Linked DNA regions of Homo sapiens: regions 1, 2, 3, 4, 6 and 7 are each linked to region 5. The links are contacts of gene promoters, found by promoter capture Hi-C in blood cells and fetal thymus (Javierre and others, 2016). All regions are on one chromosome and are shown on one strand. The core of a region is centred on a gene start or on the middle of the fragment in contact, and the rest is flanking DNA. Distances in the headings are between cores, read along the strand shown.

What was found. Contacts are between HindIII fragments. The CHiCAGO score rates a contact against its expected background, and 5 or more counts as called.
Region 1: a contact is called between a fragment that was not itself captured here and the fragment with the promoter of NRBF2 in region 5, in 5 of 17 cell types (total CD8 T cells, erythroblasts, total B cells and 2 more). The highest score is 7.7, in total CD8 T cells.
Region 2: the fragment with the promoter of RTKN2 here is called in contact with the fragment with the promoter of NRBF2 in region 5 in 4 of 17 cell types (non-activated CD4 T cells, total B cells, M2 macrophages and 1 more); the score reaches 6.4 in non-activated CD4 T cells.
Region 3: a fragment that was not itself captured here is called in contact with the fragment with the promoter of NRBF2 in region 5 in 1 of 17 cell types (total B cells); the score reaches 5.5 in total B cells.
Region 4: a fragment that was not itself captured here is called in contact with the fragment with the promoter of NRBF2 in region 5 in 5 of 17 cell types (naive B cells, total B cells, total CD8 T cells and 2 more); the score reaches 7.8 in naive B cells.
Region 6: a fragment that was not itself captured here is called in contact with the fragment with the promoter of NRBF2 in region 5 in 1 of 17 cell types (total B cells); the score reaches 6.0 in total B cells.
Region 7: a contact is called between a fragment that was not itself captured here and the fragment with the promoter of NRBF2 in region 5, in 1 of 17 cell types (naive B cells). The highest score is 5.1, in naive B cells.

The regions. Positions count from the first base shown.
Region 1 is chr10:63,720,834-63,724,114 of GRCh38, reverse strand. No RefSeq gene overlaps it. Among named protein-coding and RNA genes, the nearest start is that of REEP3, 200 kb to the right of the region's middle. The HindIII fragment of the contact is 324 bases long and covers 1,278-1,601 here.
Region 2 is chr10:62,267,436-62,270,855 of GRCh38, reverse strand. RTKN2 (rhotekin 2) reads left to right here and starts at 2,012. Exons shown (of 12, transcript NM_145307.4): 1 at 2,012-2,305. The coding sequence starts at 2,246. The region is part of intron 1 of LINC02621 (long intergenic non-protein coding RNA 2621); the gene reads right to left. RefSeq lists a silencer at 1,931-2,260. The HindIII fragment of the contact is 2,285 bases long and covers 1,927-3,420 here.
Region 3 is chr10:62,494,425-62,497,927 of GRCh38, reverse strand. No RefSeq gene overlaps it. Among named protein-coding and RNA genes, the nearest start is that of ZNF365, 120 kb to the right of the region's middle. The HindIII fragment of the contact is 1,533 bases long and covers 932-2,464 here.
Region 4 is chr10:62,436,539-62,439,895 of GRCh38, reverse strand. It overlaps a transcript of ZNF365 not described here. Among named protein-coding and RNA genes, the nearest start is that of ZNF365, 64 kb to the right of the region's middle. The HindIII fragment of the contact is 1,152 bases long and covers 1,111-2,262 here.
Region 5 is chr10:63,131,216-63,134,712 of GRCh38, reverse strand. It overlaps NRBF2 (nuclear receptor binding factor 2), which reads right to left and starts at 1,385. Exons shown (of 4, transcript NM_030759.5): 1 at 1,213-1,385. The coding sequence starts at 1,242. RefSeq lists silencers at 839-1,108, 1,319-1,568. The HindIII fragment of the contact is 9,214 bases long and covers 1-3,497 here.
Region 6 is chr10:62,418,805-62,422,063 of GRCh38, reverse strand. It overlaps a transcript of ZNF365 not described here. Among named protein-coding and RNA genes, the nearest start is that of ZNF365, 46 kb to the right of the region's middle. The HindIII fragment of the contact is 181 bases long and covers 1,474-1,654 here.
Region 7 is chr10:62,458,145-62,461,377 of GRCh38, reverse strand. It overlaps a transcript of ZNF365 not described here. Among named protein-coding and RNA genes, the nearest start is that of ZNF365, 85 kb to the right of the region's middle. The HindIII fragment of the contact is 3,229 bases long and covers 288-3,233 here.

The sequences.
Region 1 (3,281 bases), core at 190-2,689, 590 kb before region 5:
GAATGGCCTGGATTCCCTGTCAATCCCTGCCCAGGCTGGCAGCATGGGGGAGGGCAGTTCACTCGTGTCTCAGTCTCCACAGCAGCTTATAGCAGAGTGGCAAGCACCTTCCCGAGGGTGCATGGGAGCGCCCAGTCTTGCCTCTTCCTCCTTGGAGCAGCTGCAGCTGTGTCTGTAGATCCCTGGTATCTGGGCTCTCAAAGTGGCTCCCAGCTGAGACTGCTCCAGGCTCAGATGCCCGTGGGATTCTGTGTGGGTTCCCTTTCTGGAGCAAGATTCCTGTGCAATCTTTAGGCAGCTCCGTATGTCAGGCATGAGGCCCCAGTGGGTCAGGGGTTCCTCCCATAGCCAAGATCGTAAAAACCCATTTTGGAGCTCTGGGGATTTCTCTCTCACTGTTTCCCCAAGGCCAGAAACCTCTCAGCTCTCAGTCAGCTCTCAGCTGAGCAAGCTGCCTCGAACCCTCTCCTCAATTACTTCTGGCACTTATCATCTCTTCTCCGATGAATTCAAGTGTTCCCTTATAGACAGTTATTCTGAAGGCTGAGAAGTCTAAAACTAAGGTGCTGGCAGATCTGGTGTCTGATGACAGCCTGCATCCTGGTTTGCAGACGGCTATCTTCTTGTATCCTAACATGATTAAGAACAGAGAGAATGGCCTTCTCTTATTATCTTTGAAATTCAGCTAAGACCCTGAAGCCAAAGAGACCCACTAGGTACATTTCTGCAGAATTTTATTTTAAAATGCCCAAGCTCATCCTTAAAATACCAAACTTCAAAACGAAACACAGAAAATAACAAGTGTTGGTGAGGATGTGGAGAAAATGCCAAAAGACAGGCAATAATAAATAAATAAAAATAAATAAATAAAACTTCATTAATTACCTTCAGCCAATTTAAGAGAAGGCTATACATTCATTATGGGGTGCTTTGTTTTTTGTTTTTTGTTGTTTTTGAGACACAGTCTCGCTCTGTTGCCCAGGCTAGAGTGCAGTGGCACGATCTTGGCTCACTGCAACCTCCGCCTCCTGGGTTCAAGTGATTCTCCTGCCTCAGCCTCCCGAGTAGCTGGGATTACAGGTGCCTACCTCCACACCTGGCTAATTTTTTATTTTTAGTAGACACAGGGTTTCACCATGTTGGCCAGGCTGGTCTCAAACTCCTGATCTCCGGTGATCCACCCACCTTGGCCTCCCAAAGTGCTGGGATTCCAGGCGTGCGTCTCTCTGCCCGGCCTATGAGGTGCTTTGAAAGGCATTTTTAGAACTAGAAAAGCTTTGGCTTTTTCCCTCCCTCCCTACTGCTAAGCCAAGTGAAGGAGTCCAAGCAAATCAGTCACAGGGACCAGAAATGCCTACGAGAAAGATTTGTATCTCACTTCCTGGCTGGATGTTTACAGAGCCCTGACATCACAGGCCCTGGTGCTGCTTCCAGACCATAGAGAACAACAAGTGTTCTTAGGAGAGCCAAAGAGCATCCACAGGCATTTGCTGGCATCTTTGCCTGGTTTCCATCCATCTCAAGAACGCTGAAGGCAAGAGACTGGCTGGAGCAGCATGCAATTACAGGGTGGGAGAGAGGGCTGATTAGATGGTTAAGCTTTAGGGAGGAAAAGGATGGACAGTGTTTTCCCATTGACCAAGGGAACCTGAAGAGAGTAGCAAGACATGCATCATCTGGAACAGACCCTGACCAAAAGAACTACTGCCTGAAGCCAGGGGTCCCCAGCAGGAAGAAGCTGTGTAGAGTGAAGCCCAGAACATGTGGGGCAAAAGCTGAGAGAAGATTTTCAGAAGCAACTGGAGAATGACCAGAATAGGAGGAACCCCCTGCATCCCCACAGGGTGCCCTGGAGAAGCTCTATGTGAATTCTCAGATTAACAGAGGGAATGAGTCCCAGCCAGTATTATCCATGAGAGAATCACATACAATACCAGCTAAGTACAGTGACACTTTGCTCCTCTTTCTCTGATCTGCATGCTGGATTCTATACTAGAGGAATTAGAAAGCAGGAAAGAGATGAGAAATAGTCAGAAAAACACTGAAAGAACAGTCATGCTCTCCTTCCTCAGAGTCAGAAGTAAGAAGAGTTAAGGAGAGAAGATTCAAGCTATATATGAGATTGGACTAAGTTTTTTTTTGGCTGGGGAGGGCGTTGTTTTGTTTTGTTTTTTTAATACAGGGTCTCACTCTGTCACCCAGGCTGGAGGACAGTGGTGCACTCATAGCTCATTGTAACCTCAATCTCCTGAGCTCAAGTGATCCTCCCACCTCAGCCTCCTAAGTAGCTGGGACTATAGGCATGCACCATCACACCCAGCTAATTTTTTTTTTTAATACAGACAGGGTCTTGCTAGGTTGCTCAGGCTGGTCTCAAACTCCTGGCCTCAAGTGATCCTCCCACTCAGCCTCCCAAAGTAGTGGAGTTACAGGCGTGACCCACCATGCCCAGCCCAGACTAACATTTTTAATACCTGAAAACAGGGGCTAGGCACAGTGGCTCATGCCTGCAATCTCAGCACTTTGGGAGGCCCAGGCAGGAGCCCAGGAATTCAAGACCAGCCTGGGCAACATAGTGGGACCTCATGTGTACCAAATACACACACACACACACACACACACACACACACACACACACACACACACAATTAGCCAGGTATGGTGCATATTCCTGTAGTCCCAGTTGCTCCGGAGACTGAGATTGAGGATCACTTGAGCCCAGGAGGTTAAGGCTGCAGTGAGGCAACAGAGTGAAACCATGTATTAAAAATAAGAAACCATGTATTAAAAATAAGAAACAAACAAACAAGGACTCTTGTTACAGCTGAATGTGAGCCAAAAGCTATGAAATCTACCAGAGATTGAAGTTACAGAGCACAGAAGGGAGATTTAGCATAGTATGGTTGAAAGCAACCAAGGGAGAAAAAGTTGTTTCCCATTTGTACCTCTCAGAATTTAGCCTTGGGCTAAACTCATGTTATGAAGCAGTTACCCAAATCAGGCAAAACATTACTATTTAATAAAGCTTGATGGTGGGTGTAGTCACCAGCCTTCAAGATGGCCCCAAGGATCCCCACCTACTGTTATTCACAAGCTTCTGTAATTCTCTGCCACACAAGGGGACCAGGGCTGGTTTGGTTGATCAATAACATATGAGAGTAAGATTAGATTATTTTAAAAGACTGTGGCTTCCTCTCTGTCTCTCACTCTCTTCCCCTCTCCTCTTGCTCTAGGGGAAGCACGTCCTGTGAAGAGTCCCACATGTCAAGGAACTGAGCTTC
Region 2 (3,420 bases), core at 763-3,262, 860 kb after region 5:
TTCTGTAAGAGCCCAGGGATGATGGGTTAAGAGATGCCCAAATGTTCTCTCTCAGATATTTGAGATGGTAAAACGTAGTACTTCTCACTTTCTGGGAACTGTAAAATAAATAGATTGATAGAGAAATCCTCAAGCTAATGAAGCCACTGCATATGAACTCTTTAAATTTTGTAGTTTCCATGGATGAGTATATTTTATGTGCATTACATACACCAGAGAAAACTGGCTGATGAAATTAGCAGTAACAAGTAAGGACTTGAGGATAAATAAGGAAACATAAGTCCTACTCCAAGGTATTTTAATCATCATATAATAATTAAGTACTTAAGCAATTCCTGGGGACCTCTCCCGGTGTATAATAAAAACAGGACCACATCATAACTTCTTCTCCCAAGAGAAAGGTCTCTTGTAACAACTGTATTCTACAGATAATTACTAAATATGATCTTGCCTAATCTCTTTCTTCTAGTATCATAAATAAATGTATCTCCAGTTAAATATCTGGTTTTAACTCATCAAATACTCCTCTATCAGTGTCCAATTCTAAACTGGTTGACTCACCTCTGTTTTAATGAAGTGCTGGCTTCTACATGTATTTTGATCTGCAACTGAGAGCTGTATGTGTTGTAAGTACTATGTGTCTGATGATGGGCTCGCGGTGTGTTTTTCTTTTGAGTCAGGTACTACAGCTAGGCTCATGCAGCCTCATACTGAGTAGGAGATAATTATACCACAAAGTGGTAGCATAAGACAGAGATGTGCATTGGAGGAAAGGGCACATAATGATTCTGAAATTCAGACCTGTGTTTGTAGAAAACGAGGTGAGCTCCGTGTTGATAATTTTGAACACATATTTTATTGTTGTAAGGATATGGGTCATTCATAATGCAAGGGGACCATCATTCCCAACTGGGAAGCTTCTAGTATCACCTAGTCCAAAAGGTCTTAAAGAGGCATTTTACCTATTTGAGGAAGGGTATCCATTATATTTTTAAAGTACATTCTCAAACCAACTGCTTTTAAAAGGGTCTTGCAGTTAAAATGACCACATAATATCCACTACGGGATAAGTGCAAGATTGGTGCAACATTGGGACAACAGACCCAGACAGGGTCTGTCCCAGGCAAATGAAAAAACATGGGCACCTATTTATGGAGGAAAAATGCCCAAGGGTTTCTAGGCGATGAGGGCTGGAGGGTTGATTTGGTAGACTCTTCAAGAAGAGGCTTCCTCTTGCCTTTTCAAGGGGGAAATAAAGATAAACTAGGGACAATGAATTTTAAGGACTTTTCAAGGGTGTGATATCTTTGCTGCTTTCATTTTGATTTTTAAAAATCCCATGTTTCCCTTTATAATTAACAAAATCCATGAATTAAAATGGGTCTTTGTGCTAATCTTTAGGGCAGCAAGAAATGAGGCTCTTGAGAAATAGTACCCCATTTTGCTATCACCTTAGATGTTGGAGAGGGAAAGAGAGGGCGAGAGAGCTGAAAGAAATCCTTCGCAAGAAAACAAAGTAAGTGGACAGAGTAGTTGGCGGGGAACATCTGGGATTATAAACACTGGGGGCAAAGACAAGACCTTGTGAAATGCCTGACATAGTATCTCACGAACCTGATGAATAAAACCATGATATCTGGGTGACCCTGGTGACAACGCTGGGAAAGGTGAGAGGAAACAGAGAGCGCTGTGTTTGAGAGTAATGTTATTGGTTCTTTAGGAACGAGACCGTGGGCTCTTAGTGACGCTGTGGGTTCCTGAGTTGTCTGGGAGTACAGGGACTGCAGCCTCGAGTCTGTCCAGCTACGATCACTTTGGAAGGCCTTCGGTGGGATGCGGGCAGAAAGCTCCCAGTGCAAAGGGCGTGCCACGAAAACCACCAGCCAGAAACCTGAGCTGGGACAGGTGCGCTCCGCCGCCGAAGCTTTCCCCGCGGCCCCTCCCACTCCCGTCCCAGGCCCGCCCACATCCCTGTCCGGGACTTAAGTCCGGCACCGCCGCCCTCTCCCCCGCCCCGCCGCGCTAGAGCCTGGGGTCTCGGCAACTTCCGGCGGCGGGAGCTGCAGAGCGCAAGGCGCGCCCACTGCGCGTGCGCTTCGGCCCGGCTCCTCCTGCGCCCCCGGCCCCTGCGACTGGGACTTGGTACGGCCGGGCGGTTGGCGTCCTCTGCGGCTCCTGCCAGGGGCGGGCTTTTCAAATCTTCCCTTTGAAGGAGTGGCGACGGCCCGGACAGTTCGCGTTGGAGATGGAGGGGCCGAGCCTGAGGGGTCCTGCGCTCCGCCTGGCGGGGCTTCCCACCCAGCAGGTGAGTTGCGGGAGGGACCCTGCCGCGGAAGGTGAGGGAGCCGGGGTTCTGTTCCTCGCGCATTTGCTTTGTGGAGGAGTCGGGAAAGCCTCTCCCCCGCTCCTCTATTTCAGCGGTGGCCAGAAACAAAGGGAGGGATTAGGAGACTGCGCTCTTGGGGCTCTAAAGGGCCTGGACATCGGAACCCCCGAGTTTCTCAGGCAGCTGAGGTCCGGATTGGGAAGGCGGTGCCGGGGTCCAGGCGCGCGTTTGCGGGCGCACCTGTCCGCTGCCCTCCCCAGGCTTTGGACGCCTGTCTTTTTGCAGGTGTAGGTGATGCCGGGGAAATGGGAGCCCCTCGATTCCCAAGAAACCCAGCGAGGCCAGTGGACAGCTGGCTTATTACGGATTTAATGGGAAGCACAGTAATGGAGCGATGTCTACACACAACACAGAACTGGTTGGGGGGAGGGGGTTCGGAGCGGAGTAGAGGCAAACAGCAACCTCTGCACTTTAGAAAAAGTTGAAGGTTTGATACTGGGTTCTTTCTCAAATCATTTGAAAGGAAAGAGGGAGTACACGTGACATTGGATAGAAGTTTGATGTTTGCTTTTGAGCCATGTAAAATGCGTTAGAAACCTTTTTATTTTACTTTTTACTAAACCAACATTATTTCTTGGCAGCATCAGTTATTAAAATGTTACCACTTTTCACTCTTAACCATAACTTTAGGGTCTTAAAAGAAAACTCTGATGTCTTTAAGCTGGACCTTCACTTCTATTTTAATCTCTACCTTCTTTTACCTACTTCAGAAATAGGTTAAGCCATATGAAATTGCCAGTTTTGTAGGTCAAAATTGGTAGAATATTTGCAATTTCATTCATATGGAGGCACCTGATATCTTTGTTTAAAAATCTGGGATTTCCTTAGCAGACACAAAATTATTAGTTTTCAATAATACTGTGAAAAATAAAGCAAGACATTAAGATTCATTATGCAAAAGAAGTCCAGTGTCTTTATCAGTAATACTTATGCTGTTTTATGCCAGCATTTTCAAAAATTTCAAAGATTTTGATGTACTTTTTTTCAGTCCTGTCCTGTTATGTACTTTGGCTGTCCTGATTGCTAACAAAATC
Region 3 (3,503 bases), core at 449-2,948, 640 kb after region 5:
AAATACACAGCACGTTTGGGGACTCCTGAAATAGTGCTCTCTTTTGGACACCAGTCTCAGCACTGGCTCCAGATAAGAAGGGTCTCCCACAGAACCCTTACTTAGCCAAAACCTTCCTCCCACATGGGTCTCCAAGGAGAGTCAAAAATTCTCCAAAAGTTGGAGAAAGAAAAGGGAGGTTTCCAAACCACACAAACGTACACATTTTCCAAACAACTTCTTCCAAGCAGCTGACACTGCCTTCCTCCTCAAGGAAGGAAAGAGACCCTGGGCTTCATTTTTTGAGCACCTGCAGTTGGACCTTCATTGTGAAAGCCAGATTGTTGTATTTGAGGTTTCCAATCAGAATGGAGAAATCTGGAGAAAAGAGTGAAGATGACAAACCAAACACACGTAAGAGGGAAGCAATCAATACAATCCAGGCTGAAATGTCCAAACCCCCTTTATGAAGGTGTTTTGCAGCATCACCATATTCCTATTTCTGTGATTCCTTCTCCCAAATGTGTAGATCCCAGGTAAATGTTAAATTCTTGTGAGAAGTTGATTTTAGACTTTCAGCGTTTAACAAATGAGAATATTTGAGGATATGAGATATACGCAAGTGGGAAGAGGAAGGATGAGCACTTGATACATGTTAGCTCATTGAAGCCCACCTCTCAGTCCGCTTTCTTAAGATACATATTTTTTCAGTGAGATCCAGAGAGGTTAAAGAACATGCTCAGCTAATAAGCAGTGAAGCTGAGATTTGATTCCTAGGACTTCAAAGTCTGTTCTCTTTCATCTGCCCTCCACTGCTGAAAGATTATGATGCAATAATTCTTTCTAGGAAAGAAGAAAAGAATTAAATCCTAAGCGATGTATTTAAGTATTCAAGGTTTGTGCCAAACCTACCTTTCCAAACACATCCCTTGCTCTTTTCTTTGATAAAGCTTCTCTAGCCAGTCGGATCTTTCACTGTGCTCTGAATCAGCCAGCTATCACTCAAAGGCACTTATAATCTAGTTAAGGAAATATATATGCACAGTGAGAATAAATAAAAGAAGGAGGAGTGACCAAATTTCTTTTTTCAGAAAGTGCTGATTTTCACAATAAATCAGTTTTTTTCTCATTGTAAACCTCAAAGACTTTCAGTAAAACAATTAACATGCACGGAGGCATTTGTTCTTGTATGGCTGAATAGACATACCAAGTCCAAAATTTATTGCCTAATACTTTTCAGACAACTTTCACTCCTCTCCTATCTGTCTCTTCCACCCATTTATCCAGTGTTGAAACAAGAGGACAGGGGAAATGGGATGCTCCATTTATTTCATTTTAGGTGGATAAATGATTTTTTTTTTTTTTTGAGATGGAGTCTCACACTGTCACCCAGTCTGGAGTGCAATGGCGCAATCTCGGCTCACTGCAACCTCCGCCTCCCAGGTTCAAGCCATTCTCCTGCCTCAGCCTCTCGAGTAGCTGGGATTACAGGTGCCCACCACCACACCCAGCTAATTTTTTGTATTTTCAGGAAATACGGGGTTTCACAATGTTGGCCAGGCTGGTCTTGAACGCCTGACCTCGTGATCCACCCTCCTCGGCCTCCCAAATGATTTTAACATTGACTTAACCTTGCCCTCTATACAAAGTTAATGAAGTTTAGGGGAGGAATGGTAGCTATAAAGATATTGAGAGAATAGATAAAACTTCATTATTGACTATGAATTACATGATGGTATTGTATCAAAGTTAAGTAGCTGATTTTGATGATGATACTGTGGATAGATAAGAGAATGTCCTAATTCTTAGAAAATTCACCCTGAAGTATTGGAGTAAAAGGGGAATGATATCTCCAACTTAGTCTCAAGTGGTTCAGAGAAAAAGAATATGAGAGAGCATAGGAGAAAGTGGCGGTGGGAGGGAGAAAGAAAGAGGGAGATGGAGGGAGAACTAGAAAGCAAATATGGCAAAATATACACAGCGGATGAATCGGAGGAAAGAAAATTCCTCATGTGTCCTTTTTCTAATGTTTCTCTAAATTTCAAGTTATATCAAAGTAAAAGGTTGCAAATAAAAATGTTCACGGAATTAGTTTCAGGATCTCCTGGGGAAAATGTAACTGACAATTTGGGAGGGAAATAGCTTTAGAGAAATCCCAGGCAAACCCCTTCGGTTTAGAGATGGGGAAGCTGAGGCCCAGAGCTGGGTCAGTGCCTGGATGAAGAGCTGTCAGAGGCACACAGCAGCAGCATCCAGCTCACAGACTTCTGAGGGGTATCCTTCAACTGTGCTGCCTGTTTTTCTCATACACTTTTTCTTGACTAGTTTAAATCCCCTTTGATTACCTTCTCTGACTTTCTCAACTTCCCTCAAATCATTTTTATACACTTCTCCAAAAGCGTATTCCCTGCATGGCACACTAATTCTGCAGGATTTTAATAGATTTAATAGATGTTATATAAAGAAGTCTGTGCCCAAATAAGCTTGGGAAATATAGGGTCAAACAAGGTAAAACAGATTTCTTTAGTGGAGGACTTCTCAGGGCCTTTACGATGCTAATGTGCACATTGTAGGAGAGGAGGGCGAGTGTAATATGCCACATTTTCCAAATATATTTGGACAAGGGAGCCTCTTTTTTTGTGGAGTCTCAGGGGCTACACATTCCAACACATTTTAGAAAATAGGTGGAGCAGGATAGAGCAGCCAATGAGTCACGACTAAATGCTCCATGACAGATGTCACGTGTCGTTTCTTTCATTCAGCATCATGAAACTCCAATGTTTCCTGCACTGTTGCGACTTCTTACATGGTGCTGCTAAAACAGGGACAGTTTATAGGGCTAAGTCCTAATTCTTACTTTGAATTGACAAACTACATCTTTGGACAAATCAGCAAATCCCTTTGAGTCTGTTTCTTCATCTGTGAAAGAGAGGTGGTATCCAGGAACAGAAAACCAAACACCGCATGTTCTCACTCATAAGTGGGAGTTGAACAATGAAAACACATGGACACAGGGAGGGGAACATCACACACCGGGGCCTGTCAGGGGTTGGGGGCAAGGGGAGGGAGAGCATTGGGACAAACAGCTAATGCATGTGGAGCTTAAAACCTAGATGACGGGTTGATACATGCAGCAAATCACCATGGCATATGTATACCTATGTAACAAACCTGCATGTTCTGCACATGTATCCCAGAACTTAAAATAAAAAAGAAAGAGAAGTGGTATCTGTATTACAGAGTGCTTTGTGGGTAATGAATGTGATTTGTGGAAGTTCTTCATACTCTATAAGTGGACCACTGCTTAAATGTAAATGTAGCATATGACTTGTAGCACTAAAGGTGGGGAGCTCACTGAAAAAAAAAATCAAGTAAAATACCATTGCAAACTGTGGAGGACTATAAAGAAGGTGGTTTACATAACAGTAATCTGGCAGAAGGGGTTTAGGGAGAATTGTGTGTGCAATTCCAGATTTGGTAACAACCACGTTTGCAAGTCTATTTGAAAAGCAAAGAATGGGATA
Region 4 (3,357 bases), core at 437-2,936, 700 kb after region 5:
AAATTAAAAGTGAGATGATATTTTTGAGGGATTTTAATATTTAGATTGTGTCAGTTAGGATATGTTTGGCTCTCAGTAACAGTACACCAAATTATTAGTGGCATAAACAATAAAGACATTAAATTAAGTAATAGAAGATATAAGAAGCTGGAGGATGGTCATTTCAGAGCTGATTTACCAGCTCCACATTGTCAAGGTCACTGGGTTGACATCTTCAAGAGTCCCTTGGGTTTCCCATTTTGTTCACAAGATAATTTTGCAGATCCAGACATTAAATCCTTTATAACCTCATGCAAAGTCAGGGCAAAGGAAGAGCCACAGCTATTAGAGGGCTTGCACATATGCTTTCCCATCTTTGTTATAAAGAATATGTCTTTCTCAGAAGATATCAGTGTATTTCCCCTATGCTTCATTGGCTAAACCGAGCTACACATCCCATCCCTAGCTGCAAGAGAATCTGGGAAAGGGAGGCATTGTTAGGTAGTGAGTCAACATTTTTTTTTTTTTTTGCTAGAGTTGAAATAATCATAAAATTCTAAGTAAAGATTATTTAATCAATTGCTCAATCACGTGAGTGCTTCTGGAATAAACACAATGAAGGAATACACATGGCATGAGGAAAATGTAAAGAGAGAGAGGAAGACAGAGACCGAGAAGAGAAAGAATAGACCCATTATTAGTTGAAAGATGAGAAGAATTTAAATTGGTAAAGATGAAGGAGATTTCAAGTAAGGGAGAAAAACTAAGAAAGTGGGAAATGGAATTAAAATATCTATACTGACCAGAAACCATAAGTGTAGTATCAACAACAGCAAGGTGATAGTCTTACCGATATTCATACCATTAGAATAATTTTATTTTCCATGCTAAATGACCTTAAATGAGCACTATTTTCTATTTGAAATGTGTTTGTGTGTGTATTTCTCAAGAAGCACTCTAGCTAATTAGACAAAATGCTTGCAAGTTAGTGAGGCTGTAATGCAGAAGGAATAGAGACCAGGCAAATTCTTTCTGCTTGATGCCTACCTTAATAAAGCTTTCTAAGTACTGTGAGAAGCATACTGAGGAAGGATACTGGTGCTAGATACCATTCATCAGCTATTGCAAGCTTCAAAGGCACCGAAATGCTGAGTTATGAGGATTTTGCCAGAATCTATTCAAGTGGAAAGCACCCGGAGTAAGGCACAGTGTGCCTCTGAATCTTCTGCTTACATAAGAGAATAGCAAAGGCCTTAGATAAGGGAGTGACTTGATCTAATGTTATATCTCTTCCTTAATGCCAGTTATTCTGTATCTGCCCTTCATGTTTTTTTCCTTTATCTATCTTGTTAACACTCAAAATTACTTTATGTATGTGTTTGTTTACCTGGTTTTTGTAGTCTTTCCCCTTTCAATAAAAACTCTATGTGGCTGGGCATGGTAGCTCATTCCTGTAATCCCAGCATTTTGGGAGGCCAACGCGGGTGTATCACTTGAGGCCAGGAGTTTGAGACCAGCCTGGGCAATGTGGCGAAACCTCATCTCTACTAAAAATACAAAAATTAGCCTGGCATGGTTGCTGCGCCTGTAATCCCAGCTACCAGGGAGGCTGAGGCACGAGAATCGCTTGAGCCTGGGAGGCGGAGGTTGCAGTGAGCTGAGATAGAGCCATTGCACTCCAGCCTGGGTGATGGAGTGAGACTCTGTCTCAAAAAAAAAAAAACAAAAACAAAAACAAGAAAATACTGTATGAAAACAGATATAATATTCCTGTTCTCCATTGTATCTTCAGTCCTTGTCACAGGATCTGTGGACTCTCAATATTTATGAAATGAATGCATGAGTGAATAAATGCTCCTATCTGTTAACTAATTTCCCATACACAGTTACTTGAAATCTACAAAGCTGTCCAGCACCAGCTGTTATTCCAACAGGCCCATGCTATGCATCACGACAGAAGAATGATGTTGGATGTAGAGCGTGTTCAGCAAATAAAACTCATCAAACCAAATCTCACCAGGCGACCAATAAAAGAAAGATTAATACCTACATAATCAAGCCTGTGGTTTGTCTTACTTTAAAGTATGTGGATAGATTATCAGCTGTCACCCCCTAGTGGTAGAGAATATAATTATCAGGGCTGCTTGTTTCTGGTCAAAGGAAGGAAAAGAAGCCAGGAGATTTACAGAAAAGTGCATTTGCTACCAATCTCACAACCTTTAAATTGCATATACTATTCACACACACACGTACGTATATGTGTGAATTTAGAAGGAAAAAGCTTTATGAGTTACACCTTACTCTGATGATCTGGCTGTTTGTTAACTGCCTGGAAAACATAACATGAGATGTAAATAACTTGCTAAAAACTCGCTTTAAACTTTGTCTGCTTCCGTCATTACAATTCCTTATGAAATCCCTTCCTGAGAAAGAATTAAAATAGCTATTTATTCTCAAAGCCTCTTAGAGAAGAATATTGATTTCCTATTTAAAATTTGACATTTACTCTATGACGTGCGTAGAATTTCCAGAAAGCAAGGAAACCATGACGAAGTTACCCTAAAGCTTGATATAGATCAACTTTTTTAGATAAATTTCAGAAAACTACATTTTTTAAAGACAAAAAAAGTTAAATTCAGCCAAACTGCTACTTACAAATCATTAGTCGCAAAACAGCCAGTTGCTTAACTGAATTCAACCACATACATTTCCCTGCCTCCACCCAATCCTATTTTCCAAAACACCCACAGACACATATATTTGTATCTATGGGTATAGATTGTGGAAGACTTTAAAATAAACCATCCAAAATGATCTCTGATTCTGAAATCACTGGAAACAGAGAATACATTTCTCATACATACATTTAAATGTGGTATTTGACTCTCCCTCTTAGCTAGAGAGAGTTTATGTGGAATTTATAAGAAAGTTTATAGTCAGAAGTCCATCTGCTTATAGGTCTTGTTTGAAATGCTTGGTGTGTGTGTGTGCTAGCCACATTTTTTGGAGCACTCGTTGTTTACGGTGCATTGAGCTAGGCATTTAACCCTCCTAACCAACTTATGATATAAACAGTACTATCATAACCATCTTACAGATGAGCCTGCTCAGGCATATTAAATTCCTGGCACAATGTTACCAGCTACAGGGCTAGATCTTACTAGATCCCAATTGGTTGTCCTTCCATCATTAGCTTTTTCAGTTAATTGGCTCTGCTCAACAAGAAGCAGGAACTTAGTAAGTGCAATGATGTTGGTCATGAAGGGTGCTGGCAAGATTCAAAAGGCTTCAGGAAATATTCATTTCTTAGTGAATAAAAATTTCTTGGTGAAAATCTTCCTGCCTTAATGAAATAATGAACCTAATTAACAACTAAGG
Region 5 (3,497 bases), core at 136-2,635:
ATTAAGGGCTTATGGTCTGGTTATAATCGCTAACTCTTACACTGTACTATGTACTTAGTACAGTTCTAAGTGCTTTACACCTATTTACTCCTTTAATCCTCCCAAAAAACCTGAAGCCGAGTGAAGCCAAGTAGTTTGCCCAAGGTAACACAGATATCAAGTGACGAGGTTAGAATTCAAATCCAAGCAGCATAGCTTCAAAACCTAGAGTCTTAAACCACCTGACTCTACTGCTCTTCTAGGACTCAGAGTTCTAATGTGAGAAAAGAATCCTCTATAGAGCTTTCTTTCAATTCCACCATCGCAAATGAATTGCAAACCTGTGACTCAAAAGTTCTTCCTGTGTGCAACCTTAAGTAATCTGACTTTTACATCCAAAATGGGTAACCTCTCTGGAAAACTAAAAGATGCAATGGCCAGTCTGAAAAGAACTCATGCTTCCCGTTGTTAGTGGGGTTCTGTTGTGTTGTTTTTTAATTGCAACACCTGAAACGCCTTAAAACACAAGTAAACAGGCTATCAGCCATTTTCCTGAGAACAGCAAACACCTATTACACTTTCATGATGCCTAAATTGATGAATCTGAGCTAAATACAGGAACGGCTGTCTTTTTCCCAGCTGTCTCTAATATATTTGGAAGACGGTAGACTCAGTTTATGCATGTGAATGTATGTGAGAAATGAGGGGGAAGTGGAGGGTGAGGAGGGGGAAGTGGAGGGTGAGGAGGGGGAAGTGAAGGGTGAGGAGGGGGAAGTGGAGGGTGAGGAGGCTATTCACTCCTCCACCTCTCCAAAGCGGGGCGACTCAGACTCAGACCCTGCTGCTAGAACTTAAAACCAGTATCACACCATTTCTGCCTTGGCCGGCTTCAGTGCCTCTCCAGGCTGTAGGGAGGTGGCTACGTGGCGCTAAGAGGACTTCCCCCAGCCAGAGAGGAGGTGGCAGCCCCAGGTGGTGGCATCCCCTCGCCCGGGGCCCCGCGACAGGGGGCGCCAGGACTTCCCGGGGATCCCCCAGGAGGGCAAAGTCTGAAGTGGCTAGCCTGGAGCCGCAGTTGGGCCAGGGCCTGCCTAGCAGCCCCTCACAGCCTCTGCGACCACTCCTGCCAAACCAACCTCCCAGCCTAAAGGGTTAGCCGACGCGCCGGGGACGGGGCCGGGCTCCTGAGGCAAAGGCACCCAAGACGAACGCTATATTCTGTGGGACACTCACCAGGTTGAGGGGTCCTTCCATTACTTCCATAGACCCCGGGGTAAGCGGCGGCCTTAGGAAGGGGAGTAGTGGCGCCGGGGAACATGGAGGGGACTGCAAGGGAGCTCGACGCAGCCGCGGAGACTGCGGCCCCTCTCTGCGCCCCAAGAGCCAGCGATAGGCGCTGAAGGAGCAACAACCTCACCACTTCCTCCTCCGGCGCCGCGCCGCGGGCCCGCCCCCTGCGCCACCGCCGAGGCCACGCACGGCGCCATGACGTCACACGCGCAAAAGGCTGGTTCAAGGTGGGAATGAGGACAGGCAGTGGGTGGGGCCCAGGGAAGGCGGGGCACCAGCTGATGTACGCTTGCGAGCGGTCAATCTTTCCTCTCGCGAGAAGCGTTAGTTTAGGTTCTTAAAGTCTACACTGAAGTCACGTGAGGAGGTACAGCCTTGCTGTTGAAGACTTGAAATGGCTGTCTTCTGCAATTAGCTTCTCACGTTTCCTTTTAGACTGACTTTTCCTTAAATCTGCTAATCGTTACACCGTTACTTGTGGTCCTGTCCACACCTTTATCATTGTACATGATTCATTTTTTCAAAAGGCCGATTTGAGCAATTCTAGACCATGCACTGGACTAACCCCCCTAGAGGTCAGCACACTCGAATGATTTAGGGCTCTGCCCTCAAGTTGCTCACAAACTGATAGGGAAACAATTTTGGTCTAGCCAAATATAATACTGCATTCATTTAACAATTATGTGCCAAACAAAAGCTAGGTTCGTTCTGTCATGGAATTCACTGACAAATAGTTGTGATTTATGCTGGAAAGGGAACACATAGGGAGCTGTGATAGAGTAACCAAGGTGGAGTTGGGTGGTAAAGGAAAGCCTTTCATGGGGGGCGTGATTTTTTTTGAGAAAGTGTCTTGCTGACGCAATCTCCACTCACTGCAACCTCCCTCTGCCCGCCCCCTGCCCCAGGCGATCCTCACACCTCAGTCTCTTAAGTAGCTAGGAACTACAAGTGCTCAGGCCAGGTTAATTTTTGTATTTTTTGTAGAGATGGGGTTTCGCCATGTTGCCTATGCTGATCTTGAACTGCTGAGCTCAAGTGAGCTCAATGATCCGCCCTCCTGGACCTCACAAACTGATGGGATTATAGGCATGAGCTACCGCACCTGGCTAAGGGCGTAATCTTTAAGATTAAACCTTAAAATGCCAGTTAAACAAAGACCCTTCTCGACAAAGGAAATGTCTTATGCCTCAACTCTAAAGGCGGGGAGGTCGGGTGGCGGGAGCTGCAGCATTTCAGAGAGATGCAAAAGAAGATACCAGAGAGATAGGAAACTTCCAAAACATAGGTGTCCTTGCAGTGCACAATGAAACATTTGAATTTTACTCAAAGTGCATTGGGAAATAAGTAAAGGATATTAAGCTAGAGAATAATCTGCTTTAATTTACAGTTTTGAAAAGATTAATTTCCCTGTAATGTGAAGAATAGATTGTGGAAGGCCTAAGGAAAAAGAACCAAGACAAGCTAGTTGATTGACTAATTATGGGCGCTCAGACTGGAATGGAAGTAGGGAAGATTGGGTCATGCATCCACTCATTACATAGTTATCATGTTTCTACCATGTGCCGGAAACCTTGGAAGAGAAGTAGATATATTCAAGATATATTTTTGGGCATCAGGTTGAGAGGAGTTAGTGATGGAATGGCAGTAAAGCATACAGAAAATGGAAGAATCAAATCTCGTATTTAAACAACCAAGTGGCCTAGCACACTGGCTCACCCCTGTAATCCCAGCTCTTTGGGAGGTCAAGGAGAGCAGATCACTTGAGGCCAGGAGTTTGAGACTGGTCTGGCCAACGTGGTGAAACTTCATCTCTACTAAAAGCACTAAAACGTAGCCAAGTGTGGTGGCGCGTGCCTGTAATCCCAGCTACTGGGGAGACTGAGGCAGGAGAATTGCTTGAACCTGGAAGGCAGAGGTTGCAGTGAGCTGAGACCAATCACACCACTGCATTCCAGCCTGGGTGACACAGAGAGACTCTGTCTCTAAAAATAAAAAAATAAAAAAGTAAACAACCAAGTGGACAAGATAGTGAGAGACAGGACTAGCTGGATTTCCTAGGCCAACTAAGAATTCCTAAACCTAGCTGGGGAAGGTGACCACACCCACATTTAAACACAGGGCTTGTAACTCAGTTCACACCCGACTAATCAGGTAGTAAAGAGGGCTCACTAAAATACAAATTAGGCTAGAAGCAGAAGGTAAAGAAATAGTCAAATCATATATCGCCT
Region 6 (3,259 bases), core at 315-2,814, 710 kb after region 5:
TCTCTGGACTAGATTATTGCTGAAAACCAGAATACTAACATAACTCTGAACTAAGACAATGAAGATATATGGCAGTACCTTGCAGATAAGAGGAAGCTGCTTCTGATATTTTTTTGCTATTCAGAATACAGTGGTAAAACATTATCCAAATCAATAGCTGAGTATCAGCTATAGATCCAGCAAGGAGTTCACATCTGTAACAACTATAGTTGTAATAATCTGCTGTCATTATTCCAGATTCATCTGTATTCTGCATAGAGCAAACAGATAAGTTAATGCTGACCTGAAAGAAATCAATAGCTCTGCAGCTTTCAAGATTTTGATGGTGGCACTGATCTTTTCAATTACCTCAGGGATGTAGTATCAATTATTGTTTACTATTTGGAGAAAGAAATCCCAAGGACTTCTTGCATATCTCTATCATTAAAGCCTTTACTTCAACAGTGAGTATGCCAATGTCGGGAGGCTGTCAGTACATAATTAAATCTATTTCAACCATGCTTTCAGGGATTAGCACACTGTGGTTTTGCAGAGTTCCTGGCTTTACGTGATACGGACTTGGGTTAACATTTCATTTTATCACCCAAATTCTAAAGCCCACCCGCTTAACTGAGTATAGAGGATTCATGGTCCTGAGGAATTTGCATCAGCTCAAGGCTGATGAGAAGTAATCCCTAAAAAGATTGGGTATTTTACTTTATCAACTGTGGATTCACCCTTGTAAATGGCCCCAGATTCTTTTGGTAAAGGCCAGGTAACAGATTTGCAGTACATAATTGTGCCAGTGTTGTACGATCTTTCATCAAGTTGACTAGACTCTCCTACATTCACAAGACCTGTTCAATTTGTGAACTAGCTCAGTTCAGAAAATTGGTGATGACAATAAGATTGTTGATGACTTAGACATTAACAATCAAATCAAAATAGACAAATACATATTTTTCCAGTATAAGCAATGAGCTACCACTATCGGTTGCCAATGTCTCTAAACCCAAGTAGGCCACATTTCTATCTTTTGAAGTCTGTTTTCCAGACTTCTTCTGGTACAAAATGGTTTATCAGTCAGTGTTCAGTTAAAAAAAAAAAAAAACCATCTCTACAAAAATATAAAAAACTAGCCGGGTGTGGTGACAGGTGCCTCTGGTCTCAGCTACTCAGGAGGCTGAGGTGGGAGGATCACTTGAGCCAGGGAGGTGGAGGTTGCAGTGAGCTGGCATGGCGCCACTGCACTCCAGCCCAGGTGACAGAGTGACAGAGCCTGACTCAATAAAAAAAAAAAGCCTGAAAACAAGAAAAACAGAAACCATTCTAGAAGACATTAGGTGCATACAAAACCAGTGGAATGTCCAGACGACAGAAAATCAAGGCAGGTCATCCCTTTATTTTCAAGTTCACTGCCAACTTGCAATCAATCAAAGTATTATTTCTGTAGTCCAGGCCAAGAACTTAGAGGCTGCCAGAGACAGTAAAGCTTGCTAAGTATTCTATTTACTTTCCTTTATTTCTTAGCTTCTTTGCAGTTATATGGGCCAATTACAATGTGAAAAAATATGTGAATCATTTCTGAGTTAAGACAGAGAAAATCCTACATGCAATTCTCTTGTCTTTTTCTGTGACATAGTTACCTACAAGAATACAAACTTAAATTTAAGCTTAAGTCTCAGTGTTACAAAGATGGTGGAAGCTCCATCAAACTGAACAATAACAAAAAAATTGAATCACTGGTTCAAAGAAAACAAAGTCCCAAATGTTTTTACAAGCATGTTCTAACAAATATTTATTACGAGTTAATTTCAAATTTGCACAAACTGCTTCAGAAATAGTAAATTCTAGTCTAACTTTGATATCCAAATAAGACAATGTCAATACAAAAAAGGAAAATTGTAGGCCAATTAATTTCAACCTAAATGCAATAATGTATATAAAAGTAATATGTAATGACTAAGTATGATTTATTCCAAGAACTCAGGTTTATTTAATGTTATAAAATAAATTAACATAACCTAATACATTAAGATTTTAAAGGAGAAATATAAAACAAAATCTCATTCAATAAAGGAGAAAACATCTCTCTAAATTTATATATTTTTTTGTGATATATCTTAGCAAACCAGGAATTGATAGGAATTATAATAACCTAAAAAGTGTACATACCAAAAACTTACAATAATGATCATACTCAATGATAAAACATTAATTAATATATGAGGATATTTCCATGACCTTGGGTAGGGAATAAAACAAAAAAGCACTAAGCATAAAGGAAAAAACTATTGATGAACTTGACTACCTTAACATTCTGACCTTTTGTTCATGCAAAAACAACAATAAATAACACAAGAAAAACCCTACTCCCCGCTTTGAGCCATGTATTCATCTTTCAAAACTGTTTGCTGTTGCTGCAAATAGCTATAAATTAACTGAACAATGTCACATCAGACACTAAAATCCACGCTCAATAGCTAAACAATGTGCACCCAATCATTAATCAGTGTTACCTCTGTTAACCAATGAGAATTCCTGACAAACGACTTTGTATAAGCCCACCCCGTCCTTTTTTTTTTTTTTTCCTTTAAAAACCTGCTTGTAACAAAAGCCAAATGGAGCTTATATTCAAGGTTACTTGGATCTAAGTCTTCTAGATAGCTGTCCTCCCTTTGGCTCAAATAAACCCTTTAAATTATATGTTTTGCCTCAGCCTCCGTCTTCCTTTTAGATTGATAAATATCATTATGTGCAGTTTTTACATATGCAAATGGAAGCTCAGAGAAGTTAAGTAACTTGTCTAAGTTTGCAAACATAGTAAGATTAATCCAACTGTATAGCCTCCAAATCAAAGCCAGTACATAGTACCATCTTTAAGAGTAACATGGTCTGGAGATTGGCCATGTAACATATGTTACACTATCTTCAGGAGTAGACTGTATCAAAGCGGAATGCACACATTTACTTTTAGATTTTCTTTCATTAGATATATTGACCACATTGTTTGAGGAAAGCAAACTTGAAGTCAATGTTGATATTGGCAATAAATTTCCAGGGTATATTTATAATGTTCTTCAGACGTGTATAATATTAGTAAGATTGTTGGCTATGTGCTTAAGGTTCTTTGTTTCTATTGCCTGTCTGAGCTGGCACTGAAAGAGTTCAGAATAAGTCATCACACCACATTGGCATAAGGATTATTTTGAGCTAAAGGCAATTGAGACTCAGCAGATGCAGGAAGAGCTCTCTACTCTTCTAGGCTTTATCTGCCTAA
Region 7 (3,233 bases), core at 653-3,152, 670 kb after region 5:
CAGCTGCTCTGGTTGAAGCTCTCCTCCTCCCCCTCCGACTGGGGGCAGTCCTGGAAAAATCACAGGAGACTCAGCCAGCTTTACCAGCTCCTCCAGCGCTAGGCTCTTGGCCCACGTGTGATAGAACGCCCTGCGAAAGCTGATTAAACTGCCCTTTAAAGAATCCCATCTCCCACAGTGGAGATGTGTACTTGTCTTTAAGGCCTGCTCGCTCATATTTCTGGGAGGATCAGCCCTAGAAGATTCTGTTAGTTATGGAAATATGATTGTGCGTTTGAGAGGAAGCTTGGGTCTCTCTCTGGGGTGGAGGAGTTGAGTCTGAATGTAGAGGCACAGGGAAGTCTTTGTAGGACGGAGAAGATCTGCAGACAACAGCATGAATTGTTTGAATTTTTAACATGAAATTGAAGATCTTTCTGTGGGGGCGTGACCCTCCTTCTCTCACAGGTTCCAACACTCCCGATTGCTTCACACCTGGACAGATTCACATATATATGGGGCTTGTCTGGCTCCTATGGGCATCTGAGTTTGTGGACCCCTGGCCTATATGTAAAGCCAATGCTGCCCCAGAATTTAGCCAAACCAATGAAGTGAAGAATCCTCCCCATACATTTCCACATTGTCGTTTCAACTCTTGTCTTCTGATATGTACTCCTGTCTCCCAACACCACATCAGAATTAACCTCTATTGTTCCCATTAGCCTGATTTGTATCTCTCTTAGGGCTTAGAGCAATCTGTCTCATATTACCATTTTCTATACAGTAGTCCCCACTTATCTGAGGTTTTGCTTTTCTAGGTTTCAGTTACCCATGGTCAACCATGGCCCAAAAATAGATGAATACAGTACAATAAGGTATTTTAAGAGAGAGAGAGAGACCACGCTGACATAACTTTTATTACACTATATTGTTGTAATTGTTCTATTTTATTATTAGCCATTGTTGTTCATCTCTTCCTGTGCCTAATTTATAAACTAAACTTTATCACAGGTATGTATTTATAAGAAAAAACATGTAAGAGTTCAGTACTATCCACAGCTTCAGGCATCCACTGCGGGTCTTGAATGCATCCCTGGCACATAAAAGAGGGACTGAAGAATTACTCATTAATATATATCTCTGCAGGGACTTGGACAAGTACTCAATAATTATTTTTTGACTTATTGTCAGTTCGGATCAGGTCTGACTGCCACAATGTACAGAAGAACTGTAACCATCGTTACAGCCTCCATGCCATCACCACTTACCTCCCAGTGATATGGCCCCTCTCAAGAGCTGTTTGGAGGTAGAGAAGAGAATAAGACCAGTGGCAAGTCACTCAAATCTGGTACTATTCAGTTAAAAGGAACATCATATATAGGGGGAAAAGCTACAGAATATAATGGACCCTCATTTTAAAGGAAGAAACAGACTTTCCTCCTTGCTAATGATGACTTGGGAGAAGGAGAATGTGAAAATGTGTGTTTTCATACAGAAACCAATGGCCTGCTGCGCCCCTTCCAGTCTCTCTCATATGGACCCAGATGGGCTGCTGGTTATTGTAACCAGGCCCAACCCACCCACCCAGGTGGTGGCTTTACCTCCAATTCCAGGTCATTTTGGCACACCAGGCGAGCTTCGCCAGCACCTTTCCAGCTCTGAAAGGAAAAGAAGGGTACTGCCATCATGAATGGAGCTAGTGTGTAGACTGAATAAGTCACAGCAAGACTACAAGCAGTGCCATGTTCCATTCATTTAAGTAAAGAGAGCTGACATATTTTCCCAGGCTAGAAACAGAAATTGCATTAATGTGCTAATTGCAATCAGGACTATATCACTTTGCCTTTTTATTGCATTCAGAGTTTTGTTACCCTATATTAAAAATCATACACCACTCTTCATTTCCCTAAATATTTTAATTGGTATATTTTAGTCTGGATGTGTGTACATTCTCTGTTCCCTCCCATCTGGGTGTAATTTTCCATCGTCTCCCCCTGATGATCTGCATTTTCTCCTTCAAGTCCCTCCTGTAAACCCACTTCTGTGGATCTTGCTTTCACATTATGCCATTAAAAGATCCAGCTGGAAGGAAGTGCCTCTGAATGGAGTCCAAGAGAAGAAACAAAGAAGATGGAAACCAGATGCCATTGAAGTCATCCCCATGTGAGTCATGGTTTTCTCCTGGAAAGTGTCTATCTCAATGCTGTGCATCTTTTCAATTTGAAGCCCACTAGGCAGAAGCTCTCCCTCCATCTATGTGTGTTTTAGCCATCCTCAGTAGAACCATATATTTTGAATACTATTGGCATACAGTAAATGTATACATAGTACTAACAGTAACAAATAAATATTTACTAGTTAGGTTTTAGATCCAACATAAGATAGTCATTTCTTTCATGGGTCATTTACCCACTCTTATTCCAGGCCCATTCTTCACCAGCTACTCTCAGGATTTGAAGTGAATGCTCTAGTTTGATAAGGGTGTAGGGTTTAGGATTGTTCAGTATTAAAAACAAATAACAACAAAAAACCAAAATATAGATAAAGCCAATGCTGACCTCCAGAGGTTAGAATCAACATATCTTTTCTTGTTTTTAAGTACAACTTAAACAGATTTCTGTGTAACAGATCGTATCATCTCTGAAGTTTGTTCATTCAGGTAGGAAAAAAGACCAAAAACTCAGCTAATATTATTAAAAAATAATAATAAAGTGAGAGGAAGATCCCTGTTTTCCCCAAGTGGTTTTAAGAAACAGCTTTCAAAACTCTTCTAGAAGGGTATTCAATTAAGCCAGTAGCAAAAATGTAACTGGCAAAATCTAATGTTGTTTTAAAAAAAACACATGTGCATGCACCCACATACACACACATTTATATACCCACACAATATTATATATATATGTGTGTGTGTGTGTGTGTGTGTGTGTGTGTTCAAGATGGTGGACTGGATGCTTGCATTTATCTACACTCCTTTTCAAAATTCTGCTGAAGAGTCAGTTAAGGAAATAAATTCATAACCATGCTGAAGACAAAAAAGGAAACCATCAGCAGACATTTTGATACTTTTCTGGAAGAAGGAAAGACAGTGAATAGTATGGATAGATGAAACAGAGCAGAGAAAGCAGCACCCCAGATATACTCAGGAGGAGGCTGCAGAAAGGGTGGAATGTTCTTTCCAAAGAAGCCTTGGGGAATCTTCACGTTGGACATGAACAGATTCAGAACTCAGGAATGGAAAGAGGAGCAAAAACCAA